Regions from separate parts of the Homo sapiens genome. Here region 1 is linked to region 2. Evidence: promoter capture Hi-C in human tissues and cell types (Jung and others, 2019). All regions are on one chromosome and are shown on one strand. Each heading gives the region's core, a stretch centred on a gene start or on the middle of the fragment in contact. The rest is flanking DNA. Distances are from core to core; before and after follow the strand shown. Region 1 has its middle 83 kb from the start of TNFRSF11A. Region 2 holds the start of VPS4B (vacuolar protein sorting 4 homolog B).

The links. The method cuts DNA at HindIII sites, captures the fragments that hold promoters and counts their contacts. A contact is called where the count stands out against the background at its distance.
Region 1: a fragment that was not itself captured here is called in contact with the fragment with the promoter of VPS4B in region 2 in 1 of the 25 tissues and cell types used here (dorsolateral prefrontal cortex).

Annotation. Positions count from the first base shown.
Region 1 is chr18:62,405,943-62,411,480 of GRCh38, forward strand. No RefSeq gene overlaps it. Among named protein-coding and RNA genes, the nearest start is that of TNFRSF11A, 83 kb to the left of the region's middle. The HindIII fragment of the contact is 3,418 bases long and covers 2,350-5,538 here.
Region 2 is chr18:63,420,191-63,426,334 of GRCh38, forward strand. VPS4B (vacuolar protein sorting 4 homolog B) reads right to left here and starts at 2,286. Exons shown (of 11, transcript NM_004869.4): 1 at 2,043-2,286. The coding sequence starts at 2,069. RefSeq lists an enhancer at 2,154-2,453. The HindIII fragment of the contact is 11,812 bases long and covers 1-6,144 here.

The DNA.
Region 1 (5,538 bases), core at 2,809-5,308, 1.0 Mb before region 2:
GCTGAGAGATCATGCAGGCCTTTAAGATCTCTAAGGCCCTCTTCCTGCCTCCCTGGCTGCCTCTCAGTACTGTTTTTATCTCTCTGCTGTGCCACCCCAGGCATGGAGCCCAGTGGGCTTCCATTACCCTTCAGCCCCCCTGAAACCTCCCCAAAGGCAGATGTGTGCATAACAGCCCTTACCACGGGCTCGTGACAGTGGTTGTTTGGACCTCAAGATGGCAGTTCCTCGGCTCAGGCCCCATTGCTTAAAGGCTTTGCCATCTTGGACAAGTTGCTTACCTCCTCCATGCTTCCCTTCCTCGGCTCTAGGCCAGGGAGCCTCAGTGCACTTCCATGGGGCCTCTCCAGCAGGACAGCTCAGGTGTTTTCCATGGCGGTGGCAGAATCCCCATGGGTGGGTTGGGGGGGTGGTGTGGAATATGGCTAGAACCCCTTTCAAAATGGCCATTGTAAGGAATAGATGAGATAAACCAGATATTTATTAGGCACCCGAGTGCCTAATATTCAACAGTATTACGGCCCTGCAGAAATACAAATAACATAAATGAATATTATCTGGGCCTCCAGTGCTGGGATTTCTCACAGGGTGGATTTCTCCACAGCCTGTTATATTTTGTCACGGCCATGTCCTTTCCCATCCCCCAGCCACTTCATCCTGAGGCCACACAATTCAGTTTTCTGGGCTCCTTCGCCCCTTCCATGTGACTCAGTTCTGTGATTTCACCAGTAGCGGCCGTGCAGCTCCCACCAGCCCCTGCTCAGCTCTTGGCCAAAGGCACCAGAGTGCTGAGTGCTCCCTGCTCACTGGCCGTCCACCCCAGTGACCAAGCAGGTGGGGCTGCGACACTTCTATCCTCTCTTCCCTCCCTCTAGTTGGACCTGAGCCGTCGGAATTTATTTTCCCAGAGAAATGAATGATGCACTGCCCTTCAAGCAGAAGCTGTGACAGTCACTTCAGGTTTTTAAAATAAGAGAATTGGCCGGGCGCGGTGGCTCACGCCCATAATCCCAGCACTTTGGGAGGCCGAGGCGGGCAGATTGCCTGAGCTCAGGAGTTCGAGACCAGCCTGGGCAACATGGTGAAACCCTGTCTCCACTAAAATACAAAAAATTAGCCAGGCATGGCGGTGTGCACCTATAGTCCCAGCTACTTGGAAGGCTAAGGCAGGAGAATTGCTTGAACCCAGGAGGCGGAGGTTGCAGTGAGCCAAGGTCACACCACTGCACTCCAGCCTGGGTGACAGAGTGAGACTCTGTCTCCAAAAAAAAAAAAATAGATAAATAATAAAATAAAATAAGAGAATTTCCACTTTCACCTATGAACAATGCCGGCCTTCTCCCTAGTGTGATCAGCACCCACTATCCCAAGGTCCTCCCTGGCAGGACACTGGCACCACCCTTGCCCACACCACCACTGCACCTCCAGCTCTCTCCCCATCCTTGCCTGGTGAATGCAGCCTGTAGAGCTCAGAACTGGCCAGGTGTGAAAGCCAGATACCCGTGCAGTCCTCACATCCTGCACACTAATGCAGACTGTGTCCCTTTTTCTGAGGAAGGAAATTAAAACTGGGGGAAGGACAGAGAATTCCCATTCCAGGAGCCTGGGAGCTCTGATAGGACCCAATTGATATTGACTGAGATGAAAGTGGCCACATCACCTGAGGCTTGTCTGCCTGGATTTTCCCCCCATTAACCAGAAAAGAAAGGAACCTAAAGCCTTGTGATAAGAAAATTCATTTTCTATAAAGCAGGCTTCTTGGAGGAGATATATCAGGACGTGATGTGAATGCTGACACCCTGACACAGTCCTGTGTGGCTTAACCACGGGGCTGGTTCTGAGAGATGCCGCGTTAGGCGATTTCATCGTGGTGAGAACATCATAGAGTGTTCTCACACAATCCTAGGTGGTGCAGCCTACCAGACACCTAGGTTCGATGGTACACCGCATTGCTCCTAGGCTACAAACGTGTACAGCATGCTGCTCTGCTGAATACTGTAGGCCACTGTGACATGATGGGAAGCATTTTTGTATCTAAGAATAGAATAGACACAGTCGAAATACAGTATGAAAGACAGAAAATGACCCATCTGTCTTGGAGCTGGCAGGACTGGAAGTTGCTCTGGATGGGCCAGTGAGTGAGGAGTGAATGTGGAGGCCTGGGACGTCACTCTACGCTGCTGTAGACTTTAGAAACAAGCTACACTTACTTACACTGCACCAACTCTTCCAAAATATTTTCCTTTCTTCAATGATCAATTCATCTTTGTTTACTGTAATTTTTTTACTTAATAAGCTTTGAAATTTTTTAACATTTTGACTCTTGTAATAACACCTAGCTTAAAACACAAACACACTGTACAACTGTGAAAAAATACTTTCTTCATGTTATTGTTCTATAAGCTTTTTTCCTTTTAAACTTTTCTTTTTTTTTTTTTTCTTTTTTTGAGACAGAGTTTCGCTCTCGTTGTCCAGGCTGGAGTGCAATGGTGCGATCTCAGCTCACTGCAACCTCTGCCTCCTAGGTTCAAATGATTCTCCTGCCTCAGCCTCCTGAGTAGCTGGGATTACAGGCATGCGCCACCATGCCTGGCTAATTTTGTATTTTTAGTAGGGAAGGGGTTTCTCCATGTTGGTCAGGCTGGTCTCAAACTCCCAACCTCAGGTGATCTGCCCGCCTCGGCCTCCCAAAGTGCTGGGATTACAAGCATGAGTCACAGCGCCCAGCCTTAAAATTTCTTTTTTTTCTTTTATTTTTACTTTTTAAACCACTGGCAGAGCCGCATCACCACAAACACGAGAGGAATGCCTTGCACCGAGACGACATTATGACAACTATGACGTCACTAGGTGATAGGACTTTTCCAGCTTCATTATAACCTCATGGGCCATGGTTGTATCTACAGTCTATTGTTGACCCGCACGTTGTTTTGTGGCATGTGACTATATTTGCTTAAGAAGCCAATCATGCCCCATCTCCAGACATGTATGAATTTACCTGACAGCATTCAGGAAATATGTTCTATTACTATACTTTTTCTAAAGCAAATCAAACATAGTTCTGAGACTCTGCTTGACAAAGGTAGTGTGAATTCACTTCGTCGGGTTTTGGGGTGCCACTCTGCTTCCCTCAAGTACTGTAAGAGTCTGTCCAGAAATTTTGGGGAAAGGTCTTTTTGGCATTCAGTCCATCCTGGATGATGTATGAATCCTCATGCATTGTCTCAGGTCATGTGGTCCCTTCGAAGGTGGACTGCCACGTCCTTTCTGAGCAAAGCTTGGATGCAAAGACCATTAGCCTCATAGCTTAGGGCTTGGTCTCTGGGTGTCCCATGAGAATCCTGTTATTGACAGGGTGCTGCAATGGAAGGGGATGGAAGGAGAAATCCACCCCACTTGGGCTTGGGAAGTCTAACTGCTCTCTTTGAGGCCACACCACTGCTCACTTCCTAAAGCCCCAGGCCCCTGCTCAGTCATGGTCTCCTGAAATGCCCATGTCCTTGGCCCTGAAACCTGGGAGTGTAACTTCTATGGCAAAAGGGACTTTGCAGATGCAATTAAATTAATACTCTTAAAATGGGGAGATTATACTGGATTATCCAGGTGCATCCTAAATATAATCACACGTATCCTCAGAAGAGGGAGGCAGAGAGAGATTTGACTTCGGAAGAGGAGAAGGCCGTGTGATGAAGGAAGCAGAGAATGGAGGATGCACTTTGAGGATGGAGGAAGGAGCCACAGGCAAAAGAAGGTTGGAGCCTTCTGGAAGTTAGAAAAGGTGAGGAAATGGATTTTACCCTAGAGCTTCCAGCAGGAACCAGCCCTGCCACTTCAAACTTCCAGCCTCCAGAACTGGAAGATGATAGAGTTGTGTTGTGTCAAGCACCATGTTTGTGATGATTAGTTATAATGGCACCAGGAAACTAACACAGCTCCTTTACTCCCTGGACAACTGAGCTCTTGGGCCTAGACTTTTTTTTTTTTTAACAGATCGAAGTGTTGATAAGATGAGAAAACCCAGCCCTCTAGGACCCAAAGACTGGGCTGCCTTCTTAGAGTGCAGAAAGGAAAATACCTTCATTTCTTTCATCAATGACTTCACGGCAGGAGGTAAGACATGGTTGGTTTCTCAATCACGATATCCTGTCCCTCAGGAACATTTGAAGTCTTAGTCATCGGGGCTCCTGGAAACCTACTGAGACTGGAAAGATGCAGCACTGGCCCATAAAGCTTGGGGTCACACAGGTCTGTCACCAATGCTTGAAAAACCCGTCCTTGGCTGGGGGGCCTCGGTCACCTGCACTAGTAGAAAGTCTGTGGACCCATTTTTCGTGAAGAGGAGATCTGCTGACCTTCTATAAACAATTGCCCAAGTGGAGGCAGGGCTCATCGAGACTCACCCAGCAGAGGAAAATGAGTCCAACACTGCGGCTGGGCAAAGTGGGACTGAGCATGGGTAGGGAGCAGTGTGGGCCTGAGGCGCTCTGCAGGGAGGATGTGCAACGTGGTGTTCTATCCACATGGGGTGTGCCTTCAGGCTGTGCATGGGCAGGACAGGGCTCTCCCTCCATACTGTCAGGCTGCAAAATGTAGGACATTGGTAGGTAAGAATTCCACTTATTTGGGGAAAATCTATATTCCATAATTTCTATGTTACTCATGCTTTATTGTGCCTTCCCAAGATATTTTGTATTTCTAAGGGGTATGGAAAGAGTCCATCCTCTTTAGTTTTCTCATAAAAACACTAGGCAATCATCCAGTTAGACAAGTACAATTGTCCCTTGGTATCCATGAGGGATTGGTTCCAGGACACCAAACTCCATGGATGCTCGAGTCCCTTACAGAAAATGATGTAGTATTTGCATATAACCTACACACATCCTCCCCTATGCTTTAAATTATCTCTAGATTGCTTAGCATACCCAGTACAATCCAAATGCTACATACGTAGTTGTCATACTGTATCATTTAGGGAATAATAACAAATAAATTCTGTACATGTTCAACACAGACACAACCATCCATTCGGTTTCTTCCAAGTATTTTTGATTCCTGGTTGGTTGAATCCACAGATGCAGAACCCAGAACCCACAACCCACAGATATAGATGGACTGCTGTCTATCAGTTTCCTACTGCTGCCGTAACAAATGACCACAAACTTCATGGCTTAAAACAACACAAATTTATGATCTTGTAGTTCTGGAGGTCAAAAGTCTGAAACTCACAGGGTGATATGGTTTGGCTGTGTCCCCACCCAAATCTCATCTTGAATTGTAGCTCCCATAATTCCCACGTGTCATGGGAGGGAACAAGTGGGAGGTAATTGAATCATGGGGGCAGGTCTTTCCCAGGCTATTCTTGTGATAGTGAATAAGTCTCACAAGAGCTGATGGTTTTATAAATGGGAATTCCCCTGCACAAGCTCTCTTGCCTGCCACCATGTAAGACGTGCCTTTGTTCCTCCTTTGCCTTCTGACATGATTGTGAGGCCTCCCCAGCCATGTGGAAGTATGAGTCAATTAAACCTCTTTCCTTTA
Region 2 (6,144 bases), core at 1,036-3,535:
TAACCCAGCACTTTGGGAGGCTAAGGCGGGCGGATCACTTGAGGTCAGGAGTTCAAGACCAGCGTGGCCAACATGGTGAAACCCTGTCTCTACTAAAAATAGAAAAAATTAGCCAGGCGTGGTGGCAGGCACCTGTAATCCCAGCTACTCGGGAGGCTGAGGCACAAGAATCACTTGAACCTGGGAGGTGGAGGTTGCAGTGCGCCAAGATCACGCCACTGCACTCCAGTCTGGGCAACAGAGCAAGACTGTCTCAAAACAACAACAACAAAAACCTGCAAATGATGAAGATTATGTTGTAGAGTATCGAAATCACATGCAAAGTCTCTGACAAATGAAAAGCTGGTGGAATAAAAATTGTTAAAAAGCCAACGATGACAAGATGGGCACTTCAGAAGAGTCACCTTTAATACTCAAGGGAAAAATACTTTTACCAAATGACCAACGCTTTTTCCAAATACGTTTACCAAAAAGAACCTTTCCAAATAGGACTACAAAAAGCTACAAAAAACTCAAGTGAAGATTGCTGAATCTTAGTTTAATACAACCTTGGTGAAAAAGATAGTCATCCGGGCACGGTGACTCACGCCTGTAATCCCAGCACTTTGGGAGGCTGAGGTAGGCGGATCACCTGAGGTCAAGAGGCCAGCCTGGGCCAACATGGTGAAACCTCATCTCTACTACTAAAAATACAAAAATTAGCTGGGCGTGGTGGTGGGTGCCTGTAGTCCCAGGTACTCAGGAGGCTGAGGCAAGAGAATCGCTTGAACCTGGGAGGTGGAGGTTGTAGTGAGCTGAAATCACGCCACTGCACTCAAGCCTGGGCGACCGTGCAAGACTCCGTCTCAAAAAAAAAAAAAAAAAGAAAGAAAAGAAAAGGAAAAAAACACAGACAAATCAACACTTGACTTATTCCACAAAATGAGTCATTGTTGCAATTATACAATTATAATATTTTGTGAAAGATAACAATTATTTTAATAATCTTCTAGGTCGATTTTCAAGATGAAAGTCCCAAGCAAGCCTCCTTTCCCACTCTTTTTGTGTATGTGTGTGTGAAATTTTAATCTCTGTTTAAGTGGGTCTACTTTGAGTGGTCTTTCTTCAGAATCAATTATCATGGGTTAAGGAGTTCTTCCATTACCTTTGATGCCTCTGTCAGGCACTCCAATAACTGCTTGTTCAACAAACTACCGGAAGTCCACGACGGGGACTCAATACAAGTATTTTAGGCTACTCTTTTGTGCCTTATTGACTTACTGGACTGGGAGTCCTCTACATTAAGCCACATTACATTCTAAACGCCACTGAAGCCCTAGATCCATTCTGGGGATGGGAGACACCATTACATTAAGAAATTTCTTTTCTGAACGAATTCCATTCCACAGAGGACTAACGATTAAGCCTAAAATCTTAAGATTCCATGATTTGTGTACAAAACACTGTGCTCATTGCGGTAGAGGAGGGGAAGTGGAGCCACACAGAGGTTTAAGAATACTCCTCGATCTTACACACTACCATCTGGGAGCCACAGGAGTGTGCACATAAATTCAATGACTTCACGGAGATTGCATGCAGGCTGGCTGTAATCTCAGATTCTTGGTCTGTTCCCATATCTCTACTCACCTGACAGCTCAGAATGAAGGGGTCTGCTGTCAGCTTGAGAAACTAAGACCGAACTATGACCACCCTATCTTCAACTGGTCCAGAATAGGGCTTTGCAAAAATTACGTTCTTTCTTTCTCCGTTAACCCTGATTGGAGAAACCTGCCCAGATCTTGGCTGGTTTGGAAGCGGGAAGTGTCAACAAAAGTGAAGAGTCTCACAAAGCCAGTAGCTCGGGAGACCCCAAGAGCGGGCCAGAAACGACCTTTCCGTTGGAAAACGGGCCCCTCTCCCACCTGCTGCAGGTCCCCGGACCCGCCCTCCTGCGCCTCGACCACAGGCGCGGCCGCTTCCTCCCTTCTCCCCGCCCCCCACCCGCTTCTCGCGCCTCCCCTCGATCCCAGCTCCCTAGGGGGACGGGAGATGAGCAATGATACCTGGAGGTTGGGCGAAGTGGATGACATGGCGGAGTTCCCAGGCGGTTCCCAAGGGAACGAGGGGCGAGGAGAGCCAACAGCAGCAACGTCGAAGCGCGCACGGGGTAACAGCCCTCAAACTGGGGAGGCCGGTGGTTCTCGGACCGCGAAGGGCAGCCTCCCTTCCGGAACTTGTTTTAGACAACACTCTCTCCACCAGAGCTCCGACCCTCCCCACCAAACTTCCGCAATCCCGAGGCCCTCTAGGTTCTGGTCCCGCCTCTGCTCCGGGCACTTCCGATTTCGTCATCAGCACGCGCACCCAGTCACCAGACTCCCTTCTCTAGCCACAGCGCAGGCCCTCCCTGGGCCGGGAGAAGTAGCCTGGAAGCCAATCGAGCCCTGGCGGAAGTCGGGCTCGGCGCAGGCGCACTGAGACTCTGGCCTAGGCGCGGGCGGCAGCCTGGCAGACCTAGGAGAGCGCAAGCGCGGAAGCACAGAGCCGGGTTTTGTTGTTTGTTTGTTCCCCACCCCCGGGGACGTCTTTTACTTTGAGATGAATTATTGGCCCCGGCTCCCTTCCCTCCTCATCCACATGCTTTGTTGCCTCGTAGCTTTTGAGTGAAAAAGTCGTCCATTTCCAAGACCCGCCGACTGGGGGCTTTGGGCCTGTGACTGCGCCTTCACTCCGTGTCCTCTGTGGAATGGGGGCGATCACCGTCCTCGTCTCGGTGGTGAATAATTCAGGAGGGAGTGCGCGGTGAGGCGGCCGCACAGCGGTGCGCTAGCAGTCAGGCCGCGGGCGGGTCGGCGCTCGTTCCCGCTTGTTCTTCCCACGCCACTCGGCATCTTCCAAATGACTGTTGTGTTGGGAAGATGAATGTAAATAAGGCGTGGACGGCCGCTGTCCTCGAGTATGTGGTCTGAGAGGGAAGCACTTGTCCTGTAAAATGGGCATATCAGATATTATTTATGCCAGTTATGTTTACAAGCAAATGGCTTGAGGAGGTTGAATGCGTCAGGGATTAGAGGCAGAACCAAAGTAAAACCCTTTCTCAGCCTTCCTATGGTTTGCAGCCACCACCACCCTTTTCTTCTTTTCATAGTTAACATTCTCAAAGGAAAGCAACATAGATGTTTAATCACTCCATCATTTTTTTCTCACTCATTTCTTAATTTTTTCTCATCTGGCATCTCCGAAAGAATTAAAGTCCTCTCCTCTTCCCTCTTCATTGGTATTGTCAACTACCCAGTTCTTGTTTGTCCAGCTTCCCAATATTCCTTATCTGCTTCCTTCACTGTCTCCCTTTCTTACTCCTCCCTGAGCTTAAGCTGAATTTACTCAAGAGTCTGATGTCCTCTTCTCTCTTCACCTCTGCTCATCTAACTCTCTTCTTGAGCTTCAGCTATCAATAGACTAGAAATTGCTTCAAATCTGGATCTCTAGACCCACCCCATCCCCAGCCCAGCATTTACAACAGCCTCCCAGAGGTTTCCTTCACAGGGTTTTTCTGCAAGACAAATTCAACATACTCTAATTAATTACCTTCTACCCTAAACTTCTTTCTCTGGTCTCTCCTTAGAATAGTATTGCCAAATCTGTATCATCCAGGCTCGAAGCACAGAGCCCTCTCTCTGCCCTGCATCTACCCGTCCTTTCTTCCCACTTGTGAATTTGCCTTCGCAAAATGATGACTGAGACAGTGAAAGAGATCTAACTTAACCAACTCCATCTTACTTTTAACCTCCAAGCTGTCCTTGTACATTCCTGAGCATAGGCTGAACTAACTGTGGGAGAAACTGAGTTTATAATTTAAGCAAAGATGGGCCGGGCGTGGTGACTCACGCCTGTAATCCCAGCACTTTGGGAGGCCGAGGTGGGTGGATCACTTGAGGTCAGGAGTTCGAGACCAGCCTGGCCAACATGGTGAAACTCCATCTCTACTAAAAATACAAAAATTAGGCCGGGTGTGGTGAGTCACGCCTGTAATCCCAGCACTTTGGGAGGCCAAGGCGGGCGATCACCTGAGGTCAGCAGTTCAAGACCCGCCTGGCCAACATGGTGAAACCCTGTCTCTACTAAAAATACAAAAATTAGCTGGGCATGGTGGTGCGTTCCTGTAATCCCAGCTACTCGGGAGGCTGAGGCAGGAGAATTTCTTGAACCGGGACCTAGGAGGCAGAGGTTGTGGTGAGCTGAGATCGCACCACAGCACTCCAGCCTGGGCTACAGAGCGAAACTCTGTCTCAAAACAAACAAACAAAAATTAGCCAGGCGTGATGGTGCCTGCATGTAACTCCAGCTACTTGGGAGGGTGAAGCAGGAGAATCACTAGAACCCAGGAGGCAGAGATTGCAGTGAGCCAAGATCACACCACCGCACTTCAGCCTGGGCAACAGAGTGAGAATCGGTAAAAACAAACAAACAAACAAAAAACCCCTCTTTTATCACCAGTAATAAGCCATGTTGTTATGATGGAACCCCTGATGTGGAGAAGGGCACATTAGCTCTGTGGTATGCTTCCCAAACCTGTAACCTCAATCTAATCATGAGAAAACATCAGAAAAATTCATATGGAGGGTTTTTCTACTTCTACAAAATAACCAGTGCTCCTCAAAAATGTCAAGATCATAAAAGACAAGGAAAGACTGAGGAACTGTCACAGATTGTAGAGACTAAGAAGATGACAACTAAATGCAGTATGGGATTCTGGATTGGATCCTGAAACAGAAAAGGGCCATGAGTTGAAAAACTGTTGTAAGAATGAGAATAAAGTCTGCAGTTTAGCTAATAGTATTTTATCAATGTTAATTTCTTATTGTTGATAAATGTACCATGGTTATTTAAGATGTTAACAGTAGGGGAAATTGGGTGAAGAATATATGGGAATTCTCTGTATACCTTTGCAACTATTCTGTAAGAGTTTATTTTTAATTTTTATTTGTGTATTTATTTTTATTTTTTTTGAGACAAAGTCTCGCTCTGTCACCCAGGCTGGAGAGCAGTGGCACAATCTCGGCTCACTGCATCCTCCACCTCCCATAACAATTCTCCTGCCTCAGCCTCCCGAGTAGCTAGGATGACAGGCGTGTGCCACCATGCTTGGCAAATTTTTTGTGTTTTTGTAGAGATGGGGTTTTGCCATTTTGTCCAGGCTGGTCTCGAACTCCTGTCCTCAAGTGATCTGCCTGCCTCAGCCACCCGATGTGCTGGGATTACAGGCGGGAACCACCACACCCAGCCTGTAAGTATTATTTTAAAAGGAAAATTTTTCATTTTAAAATTCCTATTCCCTGGGACCTTACATTTTAGTGGAGTAGAAACTTTTAACCGTTTACATATTTAAAATGTAAATATGTTACATGTGTAAGAGTTTTGCATACATTATCTTATTGTATACGACAAGGTAAATCTTAAGTATCCCATTTTTACAAAAGAGGAAACAGGCCAGGCGCGGTGGCTCACACCTGTAATTCCAGCATTTTGGAAGGCCGAGACTGGCAGATCATGAGGTCAGGAGATTGAGACCATCCTGGCCAATATGGTGAAATGCCATCTCTACTAAAAATACAAAAACTAGCTGGGTGTGGTGGCACATGCCAATAATCCCAACTACTCGGGAGGCTGAGGCATGAGAATCACTTCAACTCAGGAGGCAGAGGTTGCAGTGAGCCAAGATCGTGCCACTGCACTCCAGCCTGGCAACAGAGCAAGACTCCATCTCAAAAAAAAAAAAAAAAAAAAAAAGAAGAAGAAGAAGAAAAAGGGAAACAGCCTCAGAGGTATCAGTAGAAATCCCCCCCAATTCATTCAGCTTTTATATGGCAGAGCTGGAGTTTGACCCAGGTCTTCTGACTCCAGGGTGACAAGTGCTAGGATAGAGGCAGGAAGTCCTGTGGGACCACAGGAGAGAGAAGGCTTAATTTTGAATGAGTGGTTAGGGATGTCTTAGGGAAAGTTCACTTAAACTGAAGTTTAAAATCTTAATCTGATTTTGACGGAGTGCAGGCCATTTCAGGCAGAAGGAAAAGCAGAAATAAAGGCGCGGAAGAATAAAGTACCTGCTCTGAGGGATCCCTGGAATGTAGGAAGCAGAGGCACTGTGGGGTTGGAGTGGCAGGA